Regions from separate parts of the Homo sapiens genome. Here region 1 is linked to region 2. The links are contacts of gene promoters, found by promoter capture Hi-C in human tissues and cell types (Jung and others, 2019). All regions are on one chromosome and are shown on one strand. Each heading gives the region's core, a stretch centred on a gene start or on the middle of the fragment in contact. The rest is flanking DNA. Distances are from core to core; before and after follow the strand shown.

The links. The method cuts DNA at HindIII sites, captures the fragments that hold promoters and counts their contacts. A contact is called where the count stands out against the background at its distance.
Region 1: a contact is called between the fragment with the promoter of NAT10 here and the fragment with the promoter of QSER1 in region 2, in 1 of the 25 tissues and cell types used here (hippocampus).

Annotation. Positions count from the first base shown.
Region 1 is chr11:34,104,284-34,106,983 of GRCh38, forward strand. It overlaps NAT10 (N-acetyltransferase 10), which reads left to right and starts at 1,346. Exons shown (of 29, transcript NM_024662.3): 1 at 1,346-1,509. RefSeq lists an enhancer at 1,099-1,558. The HindIII fragment of the contact is 6,988 bases long and covers 1-2,700 here.
Region 2 is chr11:32,891,441-32,894,140 of GRCh38, forward strand. It overlaps QSER1 (glutamine and serine rich 1), which reads left to right and starts at 1,371. Exons shown (of 13, transcript NM_001076786.3): 1 at 1,371-1,894. The coding sequence starts at 1,686. RefSeq lists an enhancer at 1-296 and silencers at 1,044-1,663, 1,744-2,143. The HindIII fragment of the contact is 5,594 bases long and covers 1-2,700 here.

The sequences.
Region 1 (2,700 bases), core at 96-2,595, 1.2 Mb after region 2:
AGTGAGTCCACGTGGTTCTAACTTGAATATCCAGAGTTATCTTATACTTCTAACTACTACCACAACTACCATCCTAGCACAGGTGACTACAATAGCTTATAATTGTTCTCCTTTTTCTACTTTTGCCTTCCTGTGATTTAGTTTTTGCATAACAGGAAGCCTTTTAAGAGGGCAAAGCAGATTTTCTCATTTCCCTGTCCCCCACAAACTCCAGTGGTTTCTCATCATGACTAGAATTAAATTCTAAATCTGGTCCTTCACTTGCCCACTGCTTTGGCCACACTGACTGCTTTGCCAGGACTCCCCCATCTTGGAGCTTTTGTATGTACATCTTTGGCACGGGGAAGTTTTTCACTCATATTCTCAGGGCTCATTCTTTCTAAATTTCAGGTCCTTGTTCCATCCAGTGTCACCCCGTCAGAGGCCTTCAGTGTTCGTTTCTAAAATAGTATCCTTAGTCACTTTACTCACTGGATACTTCTGCTTAATAGCATTTAAAACTTAACCTAGAATTAACCACGAGGGGCAGGAACATTTTGGACACTATCCCTTGTGAGCAGAATAGTGCGTGGGCATATTCACATTTTGCTGAATGAACTAAAAAATTTCATGATGGATGTTGGATTAAATGGGTAGTGCTGCTGATGACATTAAAAGTGTATCTGGGGAAGGGGTTTGGATTCAGACATTTGCGGTATCCAGGAGGAAACATCAAGCAGTTGATAATGTTTTTTGAAGTTCAGCGATCTGCCCCAAAGTCAAGAATGCAACACTATGTATAGGTTGTCCCTGTAGTCATGTTCTTGGAGTTCACTGGAAGCCCAGGGGGAGTAATTTCATTTGACGACCATATACAGGCCTAATGGGAGCCTGCAAAGTACAGCGGCCGCAGTCATGGGTAGATTACAGGATTCCCATCTGTAAGATCAGTACTGTGGGGGTGGAGGGCCAAGCGAAACCAATAAAATAGGTCTGTTGGCCGAGTTTCCTCAACTTAACGGGGATCGGTTAAATTGAACACAAATCGTTGGATCCGTCGCGTTTCGCGTAACCAGGCTGACGCTGAAAACCCTGGACCTACGTGGGCAGGCCCTGGGGTGCGGACATCTATTTTGCCCTTCTTAGCCGAGGTACTTTAGCTGGGATATGAAGAGTGAAGAGGCAAACCGCAGCCAACACCCAGCTACCGCGAGCAGTGGGACTAAAATGCGCAACCGCAGTGGACATCTAGGCCTCAGCTCCGCTTCTGGTGGCTTACGTCATTACTCAGCGACAGCCTTGAGGAAGGTCCCTTCTCGCTCGCCATCTCTGCGACTTTAATGCGCTTGCGCACGTGCTGTCTACCAGTTCCTGAGAGGGACGCGTGCCGCGGAGCCAGGCTTACTACGTGACCCGGACACCAGGCATACGCTAGGGGCAGTCAGCTGTGCCTTCTCTTTCGGAGTTGTTCCGTGCTCCCACGTGCTTCCCCTTCTCCACTGGCTGGGATCCCCCGGGCTCGGGGCGCAGGTACCCAACGCGGGAGGGCCGGGTATGGATGCCAAGATCGGTGTCTGTGTTCTTCCTGGGTCGAGAGGGGACCGGCCTCAGGATGAAGGCTCTGCATCCGGACGGATACCTGGCCTACGCCGTTTGTCCTCCACCCCTCTTTTGGGGCGCTCCAAGATAACAGAATCACCTCTCCAATACGCAGCCGCTCTCGGCGCGTGCTTCTCGAGCGTCCTCGGGGATTTGCGTGGCTCGATAACCACCTCTAAGTAGTGCCTGTAACTGGGGAGTCGGGGTGAATGGGTGGGTGACAACAGTTGTTTTCCGTGGAGCTTGCCCGCAGTGCCTGGCTGCAGGTCTGGGCATTATACTTAGGGTAATCTGATTCCAGATCCTTCCACGTTCTTAAATCCTTCACTGTGCACATTCCTTTATACTCTTTATTCAGCAGTCACATTCAGGACTTGGTTTTGTTTGCCAGTGCACCTAAAATGGTGCCTGCCACATAGATGTTATGTGTAGATAGACGAATGAGTGAGCGAAAAATAATCATCTCCTTCAAGGCCTTCCCCATCCAGGCCTTCCATGACAGCTTCAGCCCATAGTAATCTCAGCCCTTCCTTCATCTGACCGGTCCCTCAGTATAGCTATTTTTTTTTTTTTTACATCTAATTTTACCTGTGTTCTTGTTCCTCATCTCATTCTCTTAAATACCTTCTTCAAGAAGAATGCAAGCTTGAAGTCAAGGGCCTTGTGGTACTACTTCTGGGGCTCCCACAGTAGCTAGAGCAAAAGGCAGCCCCCATTAATTAGTTGTTGATTGATTTTTGCGGGATCTTTATGTGGCCGGCAACACAAGGTTTACAAGTTGGGAAGATTGGCGAACTGGGAAGAGCTCAGGCTTTGGAGTCAGGAAGACTTGAGTGTGAATTCTGTCTGTCGTTTTTCTGCCTCGGGATATTTGAATTCTTTATACTTTCTCCTTTACGTATAAATTGGGGTCCTTGACAGTGACTTAGTGTTTTATAGTAAGACATATGCTAAAATCTGTTTGGATTGGAAGGTTAGAAGGGACAGTTAAGGTATGGTAAGTTTCAGTAAATGAGCTTTATGTTTATAATGCAGTAGGTACCAGAGTTTCTAAGTAGCATGTCACTTTTACATCTAAGTAGCATGTTACTTTTACAGTGATATTTCTGATGGTTTTTTTGA
Region 2 (2,700 bases), core at 121-2,620:
TTCCTTGCTTCCCCACCCGGGGACCAGGCTCCAAGCATCACAGGTGCAGAAAGACTTGCAAAAAGGAATGAATAGGAACAAAAGGATGTAGGCGCCAGGAGGAAAACAGGATCTTCCAGAACAAAATTAATCTCGCAAGGCATAGCAGATCCAACACCAGATTATTACCAAAGTTTAAACTTTTTCAATGGTCATCAGAGATAGCGTATCAAGTTTATTAGGTCTTTCACTACGGCTGATTTGCTTAAACCTTTATGTTATGCTTATCTTGAGGGATAGATTTCTGTGCTAAGCACATAATAGGTGTTAAACCAATATTGATTTTTAAAAGGAGGTGGTCATTAAATAGAAATTTTACTGTTATTTTAACCTTTAAATTTATGGCCCAAGGGCCAAACGATGATTTGTACGATTCCCTAGTTTCAATACTTGTGAGTTATTACAAGAAATACAACTCTGCTATGCAACAGAAGAACCGCAAATAGTCATTAAATTACCGCACACCAAGCAGCTTGGAGATCAGATAGGAAATGTTTGGGGAGAGAGTCCTGCTGAAGTTCCAAGTCTCAAACAAAACCCCTCAACATCAGAGTGCATGGTGAGTTTAAATTTATTGTAATTAAAGTCATCCAGATGGTAGTTGGATTAATCAATGAAGAGGTGGTTATCTATCTTGGGATAGAAGATTCTGAAACCCAGAGCGAGAAAAATCCCCAAGGTGGGGGTGGGGACAGTTAATAAGAGCCCTTGGGAAAGGCCCTTTCAGCGAGGATTGGAAAATAATACGTTTGAATTTGAATCTCTTTGAATATAAATCTCCCCTAACAGCAGGAAAAGGGTCCTCTAGCCCAGCAAGCTTTGGGGAGGGAGTAAGCGGAACTGCAAAAGAGCTCGCTCAGCTGTTTCTGGATTGGGGCGCAGAGAAAGAAATCGCGATCAGGGAACTGAGTACTGGAGTCCCTCAAAATAACCCGAAGGGTCAAATAGTGAGCTCCAAGCAAAGCGTTGACCCGGCTACCCCTGAGCAGCGCCCTACGCTGGGTTCCACTCCACTTCCCCTCCCCCGCGCGGGGCGATAGCCAGGCGCGGTCCCTTCCCACGCGGGCCGCGGCGAGTGCGGACAGCTCCCTTCCGGGCTGCGGAAGGCGGGAAGTCTGCGGTTCGCGGGCTCCGGCTGGCGGGCGCCCCTCGGAGTCCCTGAAGTCGGCCGGGCCCCGCAGGACCCGCGCCTTCTCGGCCCCAACTGTCCCTCGCGAAGCGTCCTGCGGTGGCGGAGGCCTCGCGGCCGCCCGCCAGCCCCGCGAGCGGCAAGCGCGGGGCTCAGAGGGGAGGCGGGGCAAGGCCGCGGGGCGGAGGGGGGCGGGAGGTGCATCCTGGGAAATCCACCAACATGGGGCGCAGCGGCCGCCGCCGCCGCCGCCGTCGCCGCGAGTCCCGGCCGCGGGTGCCTCCGCTTCCCTGACGCCCAGCTGGGGCCTCGCCGCCCGCCGCGGCCCGGGTCTTTGCGGCCCAGACTCGCCAGCGCGCCCTTCTCCCGCCTGCTCGCCGGGGCCATGTGAGGGGGCAGCTCCCTCCACCGCCGCCGCCCCCTCTTCCTCCCCCGCCCCCTCTCCCTGCCCGCCCCCGTCACACGGAGCCCTGGAGGATCCCCCGCTGCTGCCCGCCCTCCCTACGCCACCCCCACGATGGACAGGAACTACGCGACCTCGGGCTTCACCGAGCCGCCGCCGCCGCCGCCGCCCGCGCCCCCCGCCGCCCCCGTCCCCGCCAGCGCCGCTGCGCAGCCCCCCGCCCCAGCCTGGGCGTACGAACCCCGAGCCGCCGCCGCCGCCGCCAGCAGCAGCTGCAGCAGTGGCAGCTGCAGTAGCGGCAGCAGCCCCAGCCTCAAGGCCAGGTAGGGAGGGTGGGCGGCGGGGTCGCGGTGGACCAGGAAAGGCCGGGGATGCGTTTGGGGCCTTCGCTCGGTTGCAGCGCCGCCCAGAGGTCTGGGCCGGGCGGGGAGCCCTCCGCTCGCCCTCGGCCAGCTCGGGGGAGGCGGCTGATGACTCCTACGGGGTGGTCGCGGGTAGGTGGGGGCGCCCGGTGCAGGATTCGCGCCTGGGGACGGCGGGTGAAGGAATAGCTGGGCGGGAGTCGTGGGGCTCCGTCACCTCTTGGGTCCTGGGCTCTCACATGGTGAAGTTTGGGCTCGTGGCTGAACTCGGGATCTGTGAGACCCAGGATTGGCGCCGGGGGTCCGAAGGGGGCGCCGGAGAGTTTGGGGCAGTGGCGATCCATTGTATTGGAACCTGGGTGGCCGACAATGCGGTCTTGGGGACTCCGGCGTGTGAGGGTTGCGGAGGCGGGAGAGGAAGAGTCGCGGAACCGCGTCCCGGAGACACTGGGGGGCCCGGGAGGGCTGGGCTACGGGAGAATCCCCGGGGCGCAGGGCAGAAGAGGGGGCCCGGCAGGGCGCGAACGCGGCTCCAGGGCCGGGTGACATATGTTTGCGCTGGTGGCCAAGATTTAGGCGATTTTTCTTCCACGCGTTCAAAGTTGCTCTTAGGTTTCCTCCCCTTTTAACAACAGCAGGAAGTAAGGAATCTTTCTTTGCCTTCTATGCCTCGGGGTGACTGAGAGTTGGGAAGAAATGGGGCGGGGGTTGGGGTGGGGGTAGTGAAGGCCGTAAAGGTTGAAGAACCAAAGCATGCTTCTCCATCT